Regions from separate parts of the Homo sapiens genome. Here region 2 is linked to region 1. Evidence: promoter capture Hi-C in human tissues and cell types (Jung and others, 2019). All regions are on one chromosome and are shown on one strand. Each heading gives the region's core, a stretch centred on a gene start or on the middle of the fragment in contact. The rest is flanking DNA. Distances are from core to core; before and after follow the strand shown. Region 1 holds the start of RTP1 (receptor transporter protein 1). Region 2 overlaps LOC100131635 (hCG1645011-like).

Region 1 (6,895 bases), core at 745-3,244:
TATATACATTAGAATTGCTACCTATGAGTCTATATGGAAATTTTTTTTTTTTTGTAAAAGCAGCCAGGCACGGTGACTCATGCCTGTAATCCCAGCACTTGGGGATGCTAAGGTAGGCAGATCACCTGAGGTCAGGAGTTTGAGACCAGCCTGGCCAACATGGTGAAATCCCATCTCTACGGAAAATACAAAATCAGCCAGGTGTGGTGACGCATGCCTGTAATCCCTGTTACTTGGGAGGCTGAGGCAAGAGAATCACTTGAACTTGGGAGGTGGAGGTTGCAGTGAGTCGAGATTGTGCCATTGCACTCCAGCCTGGGCAACAGAGCGAGACTCTGTAACAACAACAACAACAACAACAACACCACAACCAGGCAAGCCATTCTAAAGCCCCTGCTTTTAATCACAGCAGATACTGTTTTGTTATTATCCCACTGAGAAGATGAATAAACTGAGGTTAAAATAGTGTAAATCAAGGCATCAAACATCCATGAAGCGGCAGGAGAAGCACTTGGAAGATGGTTTCTGGTATCAGATGGGTGATTTTAAGTCCCTCTTTTTCATCACTAAACTTCAAGATCTGCTGGCTGTCCAAAATTCATACTGTTTGAAGAGCCTGCTCAGATTCTGCTAGCCACACCAAGCTTTTGGAGAGAGTGGAGTCAAGAGACGTGTTTTCCAATTGTAGGAAGTGTTGTTTCTAATGCATGCGATGAGCTTCGTCAACAAGTTTATACAAATAGATGGGAAGAGTGTAATGTGAGAAACTGAAATAAAACCAAAATGCCCTAAAAGACAGGATTGGCTAAATAAATTATGCCTATCCATATAACAGAATATAGGTAGCCCATAATGTACTACTACGGAATATGACCTAGAAAAATATTCATGACGTATTATTTTTTGAAAATGTCACAATGTGGTATATAGAATGTATGTGGTGTACAGAATGTGTGTGTATATACACACACATACACTTGTACATGTACAGAAAAATGGTAAGCGGGATGTACATATCGTAATGTTAACAGTAGTCATCTCGGGTGGGGTTTTATGGAAGAGTCTTACTTCTCTTTTCTTTCATCTATATTTTGTATTTTTTCTAGAATAAACCCATATGATTTTTTAAAAGGAAAAATAATTTATTAAAAATAGCAGCAGAGGCATGTATAGTAAAGGCTGTTTTGCCTGTGGGTGGTGCTCCTCTTCTGCGCTTCTATAATCAGCTTGGAAATAATCTTGTCTGCTCCTGCCTGGCTGATGCAATGCTCCTACCTTTGTGCACAGGTGGCTGTTCTTGCACAAGGCCATTGCAGCATGGATCCTATTGCACAGTTATTCAGTACACAGTCAGCTACAAGCACTGACATAGAGCTTGGCACATGTCTGCAAACCCTACCCACATGCTCGGATATGTTTGAAATGAATGAATTAATGAACCGGTCTGGGGTCAACAGCTTGAATTTGTATACAGGCTCCGCCATTTATAGGCTAGGTGAGTCCTAGGCTCCTGATCTGTACTGCAGCAATAGTAATCATAACTTAAGAGACCTCCAATTGTGTTTTGAAAATGGCAAAGTGCTGGTCACAAGATGGCTGGGGAAGCCGAGAGAGAGTTTATTATTATTGCTCCATCTACTAACAAATTTACATCTCCCCATCCCTCATTTCTCCTTGGCTGCCTAAGGCATCATGGTTACCGTAGCAGCCAGATGCTGATGATGCCTCCAGGGGACGGCAAGGTGAAACTGAGCCAGTTCCCAGTCCTCACCTCCCCATACTCTTTCCAGGCCAGGGTGAGATGGTCTGAAGCTCAATCTCTGGTCAGGTCCCCCACTCTGTCTTGGATCATTTAGACCCACAAACTCTGCCTCTGCAATCTCAGTTCAGGGCCTTGAAACACCTCTTCAGAGACTCCCTCCTCCCCAAGCTCTGTCTTCTGGCAACCTGCCTGGTTGCCGTGGAAACAGGTTCCACTGCGGACAAAGGAGGGAGCTGGGTCCTGCTTCCTCCTGGTCTTGTCGATGAGGATTTTTAGACCGTGGAGACTGCGCTGCCCTGCCCTGCACCTACCCTCACTCTCCGTGTTCTCACTAAGGTGGAAATTGCCTTCCCTCACTACTGACGAGACCATGTGTAAAAGCGTGACCACAGATGAGTGGAAGAAAGTCTTCTATGAGAAGATGGAGGAGGCAAAGCCGGCTGACAGCTGGGACCTCATCATAGACCCCAACCTCAAGCACAATGTGCTGAGCCCTGGTTGGAAGCAGTACCTGGAATTGCATGCTTCAGGCAGGTGAGTAGCCCAGGAAGGTGGATCCCTGCAGGCCGCCTCTAGGTCCCTAGCTCTGGGGCACCTTCCAAGGAGAGGAAGATTACGTAGAACCCAAGTGTTTAGCTTCAATCTCACTATTAGGCTGGCGTAGACTGGAAGTCAGAGAAAGAGTCCCTAACTGGGAACTACGACACTTGAGTTGGATTTCAGCTCTTCTACTGATCACCTGTGTTACTCTTCCTCTCTGAGTCACAATTTTTCCGTCTGGAAAATAAAGACATAGAATATACGTATGAGTCCTACACACTGACATTTTACATATTTTCTATTTTAACAGTCTCTTAAAAAGTAGTTTAAAACCAGAGAAGAAGGGTTTGAGGCCCACTGGGGGTCGAGACGTCCGTGCTCTGGTCCTGGGACCGGTTTAAATCTATTTAACTCAACTTAATTTCACTTAAAATATTGAATACATGAGATGTGCCAGAAACTGGCTCTATCATTGGCTCCATGGCTGTTGAGGAACTCGATTTTCTTCTTGGACCTGGCTTTCTCCTTTTGCACAGTGAGAGGTTAGCCTGTGGTCCACAGAGCAGCAGGATCGGCATCACCTGGAATTTGTTAAGAAAGCAGAATCTTGGGCCCCTTTTAGATCTGAATCAGAATCTGATTTCAAGAAGAGTTCTAGGTGATTAGTATGTAAAAACTATCTGAGATGAATTTCTAGCACTCTTGTTCATGGGTCCAGAGTGTAGGGGCTTACCTTTGAGACATAAGATGGGGAGGCTGAGTGGTGCAGCCTGGAAGTCAGAAGCAAGGCCTTCCTGCTTGCCCTGGTTCAGCCAATTCACTTCAATTCAGGAAACATTACTGGGCACCTGTTACGTGCTGGGCGCCGGTTCTGCCTCTAGCTGTGTGTACATGGATGCCTCTCTCACTCTGTCTCAGCATAAAAGAAAACATTAATTAGGTGATTTCCAGGTCCCTCTAGTTACGACATTTTTCAATCCAGGTTTTGTAGTCTGGTCTGAGAGAGGAAACAGTCCCCAAAAGATGTGTGAACAAGAAGAGAATGAAAATGTGAAGCTCCTAAACTGGCTGACAGGAGGGGTGTCAAGGGCTGGACACTTACAGGCAGGATCAGGAGCTTCTTGAAGACCTGGAAGGCTGTGGGGGCTGAGTGGGGAGGGCTTGTGGCTGCCCCAGACCTGGCTGGGGACCTGTAATCCCCAGCTGGCCCCAGTCAGGCCTGGGAGACTACAGGCCTTGGGGATCTGGGCACAGACTGCCTCCACCTCCAGGCCTTGTGATGCATTAACTCTGACACTGGCCTGGACGTTGATAGCTAGTAATGGTGTCATTTTCTCCTAATTTGGATCTAGCCTGTTCACAGTCAGTGTTAACAGATAGAAATGTGCAGATGGATTATGTGTTTCTTATCTGGTGTGAGAAGGAAGGACTCACCTAGTGCACCAAGCGCATTTTGCCCATGAGGAATAAGAATGACGCCCAATGCTGGGGTGGTGGGAGTTAGGCCTCTGGAAAGCACTGAGGAGGTAGAGCACTGCTGGATGCCCGGTGACATCCTGAGGAACCTGCTGTAGTCCTAGGGGCACTTGCAAGGCTGAGTGGCTTCCTGGGGAAAGCTAATGAACCCAGGGCGCCGGCAACACACTTCCTCCACCTCCAGGCTCTGCTTAGCCTCCACGTCCCCTCACGCCATTCCTAGGGCTGTTTCCACCACCTCCGCCCGTCTTCTATTCCTCCCTCTCCTCCCGTCTCCGCAGGTTCCACTGCTCCTGGTGCTGGCACACCTGGCAGTCGCCCTACGTGGTCATCCTCTTCCACATGTTCCTGGACCGCGCCCAGCGGGCGGGCTCGGTGCGCATGCGCGTCTTCAAGCAGCTGTGCTATGAGTGCGGCACGGCGCGGCTGGACGAGTCCAGCATGCTGGAGGAGAACATCGAGGGCCTGGTGGACAACCTCATCACCAGCCTGCGCGAGCAGTGCTACGGCGAGCGTGGCGGCCAGTACCGCATCCACGTGGCCAGCCGCCAGGACAACCGGCGGCACCGCGGAGAGTTCTGCGAGGCCTGCCAGGAGGGCATCGTGCACTGGAAGCCCAGCGAGAAGCTGCTGGAGGAGGAGGCGACCACCTACACCTTCTCCCGGGCGCCCAGCCCCACCAAGTCGCAGGACCAGACGGGCTCAGGCTGGAACTTCTGCTCTATCCCCTGGTGCTTGTTTTGGGCCACGGTCCTGCTGCTGATCATCTACCTGCAGTTCTCTTTCCGTAGCTCCGTATAAGATTCCGTGGTTGGGCCCAGAGCCTGTCGAGGGTGCCAGTTAGCTGATGCGAGGGTAGAGGAGAGACGTGGGTTGAGAATAGTGTAAACTTCTAGCGCTGGTGATGTCACTGACTCAGTGGGGATCTTGGACAAATTATACAGTTTTTCCATCTATAAAACTCAGGGTTTGGGCAAGATCATTGGTTTATCATAGTGAAACCCAGGACCCCAAAGTTCTGCGTAGGTGCCTCAGGGACTTTTGGATTTGGAAAGTAGGCTAAGCTAGTGGGTGTCTCCAACTCCTGATCTAAACACCCATCCTCCAACTCCTACCTCCTCCTCTTGCTTCGATCAGAACAGCTTTACTTTAGATAGGGTTCCATTTAAGATTTTTGTACCAAAAAAAAAAAAAAAAAAAGTTTAACTACTTTTAAAAAGTTTGAAAATTAGAGGACTGGGTGATCTCAAAAGGGCTTTCCACAGTAATGAGCTCGACCTTGCTCTTATTAGTCCCTCACCCCTGCCCCTCATGATCTCCCACTTTCTCTAGCTGCAGCCTTAAATTAGCTTCTTTGCCCACCCTGTGAGCCTCATCCGTGATTCTGCCTTCACACACGCAGCAGAGGTTTCCCTTGAAGTGCAAGAGGTGGGAGATCAGGCTGTTCCTTTGCTGCCAGGTACACAGGGTCTCTTTTTTTTGTTTCTCAGATTCCAGCTTCTTTCCACTCAGGGCAGATTCTGGGGTCTGCCTGCCTGAAAGATGGTGGTTGGGGTGGGGTCTCATAGAGTTAGGCTTCTCACCCACTGCGTATTAACTGGCAGAGAATTTAGGGGAGGTTCAGAAGACAGAGTTTTAGAAGCAAAGCACAAAATCTCTGGGAGGCATTATAATGGAGGGTCTTCAGAGTTCGGGGACCAAGTCTAGCAGATTCTCAGCAGTGCTGATGGCCAGAATTCAGGAGCAGGGGCCTGGCCTCCTGGGTTCTTTGCTGAAATTATAGTTGAATGGCTTTCTCACATTGGCCAAGCATGAGGCCTCTTGCCAAAGATCAGCTGTCCCCCTAAAGCCACAGGGATGGGGTATCTTCAGCAAGAGAGAGGGCGTTAAAGATGTAAAATGCTTTGTCCATGGGGAAGTGCACAGATATGTGGGAGAACCTTACAAGGCTCTAAAATGAGATGTGATATGGCTTGAAATGGGAGGAGACACTTTCTGACAGTGGGGGGTCTGGAATGGAATTGGTGGGGACAGGCAGCAAGCTGCACTTTTGAGGGGCCTCATTTACCCCACCTCTGTTAAAAACTTGACTACTCTCCTCTTTAATAGAAAGTCACCATCATCTGTAGTGATGGAGGAAGGGGGTCACTTATATAAAGATGGGACACTTTAATAAAGACAGGATATCTTCCATAAGGCTTAGTAGTCATTAATGTGTGTTTGAGATTCCCCCACTGTCCCAGATCTGTAATGAGCTATTGGTCCCCTCCATCCCGCCACCCTGTCTCCCCTTTTCTCCCTTCTGCCCCCTGACCCCACTGCCACATAAGGCTCTATCTAGCTCCAGTTTTTGGCCAGTCTCGTCCACAGTCAGGAGGGATGGAAGTCAGTCATTCAGGGGATCAGCATAAGGTCAGTTTTACTCCTATCCTGGCTCGAATTCAAGTAAGCAGCGATGGCTTCCTTTACTTCATTCACAGAGTATTTATTTCTTCATCTAGTCCGCATATCCTGAACACCTGCTATCTAGCAAGTCCTGATTTACTTGCTAGACAGTAGGTGTTCAGAATATGCAGACTAGAGGAAGAAATGAATACTGTGGGTGCAGCGGAATATAGGGGGTGCTCTCTGGTTTCTCAGACATCTCTGCTTGCTACAGAAGTTTTCAGCCCTGGCTGTACTTCAGAAATTCTGGGGAGATTTTAAAGAAATATAAGTACTTAGCCTCTACCCCAGACCAATGGGATCAAAATTTGGGGGAAGTGGGACCTGAGCATCTGAATTAGAATAAAACACCCAGGTGATCGACCTGTACTGCCTGGTGTAATGCCTTCTAACTGAGGGATAGACTTCCTTTTGCATCTAGTTTTATGAAAAATGAGCCCTGAGATCTTCCTTGATGATTTGCCCTGGATTCTTTAGGACTGGGGCTCGGCTTCCCTTTCTCTAGCTGCCCTACTCACCCCCAGCCTGTGCTCTGGGGAGTTCACCGTCCCTCACACTCCCTTGCTCCTGCAGGTTTGCTGCTACAATGGCTGTGTTCTGCTCTGAGAGTCTTTGTCACTGAGCTCTGCCACCCTTGCTGGGACACTCATAAAACTTGTTATAATTACTCAT
Region 2 (7,182 bases), core at 1,438-3,937, 520 kb after region 1:
CACTGTGGCAGGGCCCAGGACAGCAGGGATTTGATGCTGTCTCCCACCCAAAACCACCCAGAGTCATTGAGTGTAATCAGGAGACCAGTGCTTAAGGGGCACCTCCTCAGGCCCTCAGCACTGAAGGGGAGCAGGGAGGAGATTGAGATGTACCCAGCCCACAGCCTAGGCACCAGCCGTCCAGGGACACGGGCCTACACTGTGATGCAGGTGGTGGGCGCCATGGCATGTCCCAGTGGCTTCCTCTCTGTCTACTCCCAGAATTTACAATTTTGACCCTAAGAGAATACCAACCCTAAAAGCCTAAATTTTCTCCTTACACTGTTGTGAGTTGAAAAAGCTGTGCTCAAGGGTACACAAATGTTACCAGTGGAAGGTGTCCAGGTTCTTGGCATTTTGAACAAAGAATTGGACAAAATGCACAAACAAAGCTATGAAAGAATAAAGCAAAGAGAGCATAGATTTATTGAAACGAAAGTATACTCCACAGACTGGCAGTGGGCTTGAGCAAGCACCCCAAGAACGCTGGTTACAGAATCTTCTGGGCTTTAGATACCCTCTAGAGGCTTCCCATTGATTACTTGGTTCACACCCTATGTAAATGAAGTAGTGGCTCACAACCAATCTGATTGGACATGGAAGGTGACCAATCAGAGGCTAACATGAAGTTACAAAGTTACACCCTATGCAAGTGAAGACTAGGCCTACAATCAGTCTGATTGGTTGCAGGAGGGGACCAATCAGAGGTACTTTCATTTTTAATTTGCAAGGCAGAAAAGCAGGAGGGGTGGGGGGAGCAAGTTGCAAAGGGAGTAGCCTCGGATCCTTTTGTTACTTGGGTGTGGAGAGATGGGGTTTTCCTTTTTATTCAGTTCTAGGAAACCAGTGCAAATTGGCCTTAGGTTCTCTGTCTCCAGACCCTATTCTCCTGCCTCACAAAGATAGGTGTACCTTTTTGTTAATTCAACCACTGACACACAAAGTTACTGCCTGTGCTAGCTGAGTGTCTGACAGCAAGTCAGAAGGCAAATGGTCTGTTCTCGGCCCTCACCCGCTAGCCAGGTGTTCTTAGGCTCTCCTCTCCGAACCTCAGTTTTGTCACTTGCCAAATGGGATATCTTGCTTCCTTAACTGGCGAGATTGTGGTGAGGATTAAGTGAACCCTTGGAGATGAAAGGCTTTTGTGATTTGTAAAGTTTGTTATACTAGACACTAGATTAGTGTCATATCATAAACCCCTGCCTCTCTCCACAGTTCTACTAGGAATTGGCCTCTTTTGCCCAAGAATTGAGATATAACCCCTTACCTTTTCGAGAAGAGCTGGAAATTCCTGATCCCCAAAGGAATGATTCAGAGTGGAACTTTACACACATTCAAGTAGATCTCCGAAAGAAAGATTTGGGGGCCAGAGCCCCTCAGTCAGTTCTGTTAAATGGCTCTGCTGAGATGACGAAGAGGATTTAGAAAGAGAATAGGTACAAAGCCATAGGAGACCAACTCAAAAAATAGCACTGGCCCCATTTATACCTTCCTGCTTCCCTGGAGCCAGAAAAAGTGGCACCTACAGCCTTCACTGCTTGGTCTACCCTGCCACCTTGTGGCTATTTGCTAGAATGCACCAGTAGAACAGCCTCAGAGAAAGCAGGGACCAGTAGGAACCCTTAATCATGCACTCACTCCTTTGCTCCGTCACTCAACAAACCTGTACAGACGCTCACAGTTGTTCAGGCTGAAGAAATTCACAGGCTGGAAGAAGAGAGGGACTGAAGGGAGGGTAAATGGAGAAAAGAGACTTGCTAGGCAGGGGTCTTGGTGTTTGCAAAGACACTGAAGCCTCACAGGTTTGGGAAATGGTGAGCTTCTCCATGTGACTGAAGAATAGGGTGCACCAGGTAGAAATGATGGGAGATAGATTATAGCCTCACTATTAGAAAATGATATGTATGAAACTGTAAGCCTCTGTACGTTAGGAAAAAAAAAACACAAACAAACAAAAAACAAAGAAAGACACAACTTGGTCCCTGGAGTGCAGGGCAATTCAGGTTACAGGTTACAGGTTACAGGTTACAACCCTCCGCAAATGGCCCCCAGACTTCCATGGCCCTGCTGTCCTGAGACTCCTAGGAGGAAACACTTACTCTGAATCCCTCGCCATGATTAAAATCAGTTTCTAAATGGGGTAGGATCTTGTGTAATCTCAAGTTTGAAAGGGACCTTAGAGTCATTTAATCCAACCCTCCCTGCAAGCCAAGATTGCTGCCAACTCACCACACATCTTAAGCTTAAATCACCTTCAGTGATGAGTTCAGATGCTCACCCAAAGCCCGTTCCATCTTTAGACACAGGAAATCCTTTATTCTATCAAGCTGAGTTCTTCCTCTTTATAATTCCTGTTCATTGATATAAGGTTCCCCCCGCCAGGGTTCTGTCAAAGAAGTAATCAGATACATGAATGTATATGAAGAAGGTAACCATTTAGTGGCAGCACTGAGGTTTCTGGAAATAGGAAATCATGGTAGTATTATTTCCGAGGAACTAATACTGGCATAGGCCTTGGGGGAGCTGTGTCCTAGTCCTTATAGAATTTCTTTGCTTAATGTCACTTGGCTTCCTTTCCTTTATGATAGAGTTGGATTCGATCAGAATTCTCACCACTGGTTCTAAGTCAGAATCATCTGGAGAGCAAGAAGCAGAATGTCTGAAATCTTCCTATGGTACAGAACTGCTGGATGAGACCATCAGTGGGGTAAGCTCAAATACTCCATGATAATTCAAGACATGATTAACTATAATAGTCTCCAGTTCTTGTTGAGGTTTTTGTCAAGCCCATGATGGCCTGGTATGTAAGTTCTTGGTGATTCCTATTTCTTAAAGACCTACCTAGATCTACAGCTTTCTCCCATCTGCATGATCAAAGTGTGTCGTTCACAGAGCACAATTATTTTGTCCTGTCGTGCTCTTTTGGACAGAGACCCACCAGTGACATAAAAGACAAAACTAGCTAGAGAAGAAAAAAGAGACGTATTGCCTGATCTTAGCTGAGTGCCATGACCTTCTTGTTCCCCATTCACCTCATCTGTAAAGAGGGAAGACAAACCCACTTCAGTGAGTTGTCGTGAGGGTAATTGAGACCGTGAGTGTAAAGCCTACTGGCAATGAGAAGGCTCTCCAAATCTCAATTCCCTGAGTCTTTGACAGCGAGAAGAAAGTGAAAACGAGAAGCTAGGGTGGTGCCTTTTCTGAGAGCATTTTTCTTCATCTTTCTTCCCATGAACAGCCTCTGTTGAATTGTATCATGTCCCCACAAAATTCATACGTTGAAGTCCTAACTTCTAGTACCTTAGAATGTGACCTTATTTGGAAATAGGGTCGTTGCAGATATAATTAGTTAAGTTGAGATCATTAGAGTGGGCCTTAATCTAACACAAGTGATGACCTCATAAAAAGGGAAGAACTTTGGATACAGAGACACAAACACAGAAACACCATGTGAAGATGAAAAGATTGAGGTGATGCTTCTACCAGCCAAAGAGTGCCAGATTGCCAGGAAATGACCAGAAGGTAGGAGAGAAGGCTGGAACAGATTCTTCCTTACAGCCCTCAAAAGAAACCAACAGTGCCAACACCTTGATCTCGGACTTCCAGCCTTCAGAACCATGAGGCAATAACATTCTATGGTTTAAGCCATTTCAGCTGGTGGTACTTTGTTTCAGCAGCCTTGGCAAACTAATTACACCGCTAGAGGTGACTCCTACTGGTGACATCAAAGGACAGCTCTGTCCAGATGGAAGGAGGCACTGAAGTTCCACAGAACAAATGGGAGACACACGAGAACCCTGAGAGAGCCTCTCCATGGGCCACCAGCTCAACATGGCTGTCCACCTTGTACTGCCGTGAATGGACAATTTGCCATTCTGAACATGCCCCTTCTCAAGATATGCAGAATCCATAGGAACATCAGTTTTTTAGTATACTTTAAGTTCTGGGATACATATGCAGAATGAGCAGCTTTGTTATATGGGTATACATGTGCCATGGTGGTTTGCTGCACCCACCAACCTATCATCTACATTAGGTATTTCTCCTAATGCTATCCCTCCCCTAGCCCCCAGCTCCCGACAGGCCCCAGTGTGTGATGTTTCCCTCCCTGTGCCTATATGTTTTCATTGAGGAACATAATTTATTAGCCATAGTTTTATATATTTTGGTGTTTCCTTGTAATTTTCCTTCCATATATGTCCATGTTTTGTTTTGTGATTTTGACTACGAACCTTTGAGGGCTGGAACCACGTTACAAACCTCACTGGGAGTCAGGTGATGTTTGATAAGAATTCTTGGTGTGACCTTAAGCATGTCACCTTTCTTTTCAGGCCTGGTTTCCTTGCCTATGGAAGAATTATTATCACTAAGCTCTCTCCAGTTACAATATTCTGTGATCCCAACTCCATATGTATTTACATAACCAACCTGCCTTCTTGGGGTCCTAAAGGGAAAGAAAGACCCAGGAAACTCATCTTTTAGATATGTTGAGCAGCTGTCATCTGGGGTTAAATGAGTCAGCCTCATTTAATAAGGGGCTAGACCCCAAACGTTTGGGAGCAATGTAGTACCCAGGGGCTGTAAACCCCACTAGGTCTCCTTCCTAGACTCCAAAGTCCTCCTGCCTGGGCATCTGTCTTTCTAGAAGGCCACTTTTTTGTGTTAATCTTTTTTCTTTTTTTCTCCCATGAGTCATAGGGAATGAGAGAAGGCCACTTTCTTAGTGAGTGCTGAAGCTTTCTCTTCTTTGGAGGCAGGCCCTGGATGCTATATTTCATGTAATGGGCAGCCTTCCCATGGTAGGGCTGGGCTTCTGTGTACTGTTTTGAAGCTTCCTATCTCTGCTCTGGGATGGGAGGAACATTCACTTTCCAACTGGGTACAGTATTTTGGGTAAATAACATTTTGTTTCTTACCTTGGAGGGATTACAGCATGCCTTGGCCTCCACTATAGAGAAGCTTGGGCCTAGTCAAAGAAGTGTAAGGGTCCTTCTAATGGCAAACTCCCCAGAAGCGTGGCTATCTGTGAAGCGTAAGGGTCCTTCTAATGGCAGACTCCCCAGAAGCATGGCTATCTGTGAAGCGTAAGGGTCCTTCTAATGGCAGACTCCCCAGAAGCATGGCTATCTGTGTGTAAATTATGCTCCTTTGGTTCCAGGAAATAGACTCATACAGGCCAGTCCAAGTAACGGCAGTGGTGTAGAAATGAAGGCAGTGACCCCATTATACAGTGGTTATAAGAGGGATGGATTATCCTAGAAATCTAAGACTAGAAACCCCCACACAATTATAAGCTTCATAGAACTAGATCCTGAAAGGTCACCCTAGTTCTGCAGACCTCATTCTGGAGCTTTGCCGTTAATGTGGCCCAGCTACTCTTCAGGGGTCAGCTTTTCTCTGCTCCTATTCCTCATTCTAATTCTCTTAGTGCTTACCAATGCATGTCTCTGATAGAACACAGGACAACTTATTATTATTATTAATTTTTTTTTTGAAACAGAGTCTCACTCTGTTGCCCAGGCTAGAGTGCAGTGGCACGATCTTGGCTCATTGTAACCTCCACCCCCTGGGTTCAAGCAATTCTCCTGCCTCAGCCTCCCTAGTAGCTGGGATTACAGGCATGCGCTACCACGCCTGACTAATTTTTGTATTTTTAGTAGAGACGGGGTTTCGCCATGTTGGCCAGGCTGGTCTCGAACTCCTGACCTCAAGTCATCCATCTGCCTCGGCCTCCCAAAGTGCTGGGATTACAGGGGTGAGCCACCGTGACCAGCCTTATTATTAATTATTACTATGAGTGAGACAGAGAGAGAAAATGGAAACCCAGATTTCAAAGGGAATAGCTCATTTCTCCAAGAAGCCTGAGGCCTAACAATTGAATTGAACTGATTAAAGTTCTAATGACAACCACTGTGCGAACTCAGCCTACCCGGACACCTTTAGCTGCGGGACCTTGGACTAGTTCCTCCTTCCATTTCCCCATGTCTAAAACGGAACATTTGTAACCAGGCATGGTGGTGGCCCCTGTAGTCCCAGCTACTCTGGAGGCTGAGGCAAGAGGATTGCTTGAGCTCAGGAGTTCAAGTGAGCTATGATGGTGCCATTGCCGCACCCCAGCCTGAGTGACAGAGCAAGACTCCATCTCTAAGAAAAATAAAATAATAAATAAATAAATAAATAAATATTAAAAATTAAAATGGAACATTTGCCTCTGGTTTTCCTTCCCTTAGGGTTGTGTAAAGAGCAGGAGCCTGTTCTCCACTCTCCACCCCAGGCTCTGGGCGGCAGTAGGAAAGTGCCTTCAGCCCTCCTGCCTCAATCCTTTCATGGGTCAGGTGCAAGATTTGAGCTAGGTGATCTTACCACCCCATCCCTTCCAACTACTAAATAGCTCTGCATAATTCTAACCACCCCTTCCCTTCCAACTACTAAATAGCTCTGCATAATTCTAACCACCCCGCTTCTCTGGGATTACCCCTTACACATCCTCATCACACTGATCCTCAGAAACCTATCCTCTAAAAATCCCACAATGTAGAACACCACGCATGTTCCATGTATGGGTGAAAAGCTGCATTTACATCTTGCTTTTTAGTAAACATTTTATATTCCCTTTGCCCTGGCTTATCTGCTTAGAGACTTTTCTTTTTAGTTATTATTGATTGTCAATTGGCTGCAGTTACTCACTCTTTGATCTTCCCTTTTGTTTAAATGGCCACCCACACTATCTGCCCTCGCCCCTCCATCTCTCTATTAAACAGTAATGAAATGCAAACAAACTTGGAGGTACTCTGGGAGCAAAGGGACCCTGGGGCCAGCTTCCCTTAGGCCTGTGAATTGTCATTCCTGAAGCTGTCTGTTTTGTAAGTTCTCCTGCCAAGTTTCTATGGGAGCAGAGGGATCATTTTCTCCCTTTTCAAAGAGCAGGGTGAGTTGAGGCCTCGAGCTGGCAAGTCCTTTAAAGTCATTTTCAAAGGAAACCTGAGCTGAAAGGCCATGCAGCTGGCAGAGGGTGCTGTGCCTTTCTGAGGCTCTCTGTGGGGTGCTGGGTGGTCAGCTCCCATGGCTTCCCAGCACGTGCTCGGAGCCTGCTGCAAAGGCACTGCCAAGGGACACGGCTGCCCAACAAGTGGGCCCATGGCC

Evidence for each region. Contacts are between HindIII fragments. The study calls those that stand out against the background at their distance.
Region 2: a contact is called between a fragment that was not itself captured here and the fragment with the promoter of RTP1 in region 1, in 1 of the 25 tissues and cell types used here (H1 embryonic stem cells).

Annotation. Positions count from the first base shown.
Region 1 is chr3:187,195,492-187,202,386 of GRCh38, forward strand. RTP1 (receptor transporter protein 1) reads left to right here and starts at 1,995. Exons shown (of 2, transcript NM_153708.3): 1 at 1,995-2,296; 2 at 4,060-5,971. The coding sequence starts at 2,025. The coding sequence ends at 4,579. LOC101929106 (a long non-coding RNA gene) reads right to left here. Exons shown (of 5, transcript NR_110052.1): 3 at 3,737-4,622; 4 at 3,036-3,211; 5 at 1,599-2,539. The HindIII fragment of the contact is 12,407 bases long and covers 1-6,895 here.
Region 2 is chr3:187,712,995-187,720,176 of GRCh38, forward strand. It overlaps LOC100131635 (hCG1645011-like), which reads left to right. Exons shown (of 3, transcript NR_034062.1): 2 at 2,628-2,746. It also overlaps a transcript of RTP2 not described here. Among named protein-coding and RNA genes, the nearest start is that of RTP2, 14 kb to the left of the region's middle. The HindIII fragment of the contact is 4,270 bases long and covers 553-4,822 here.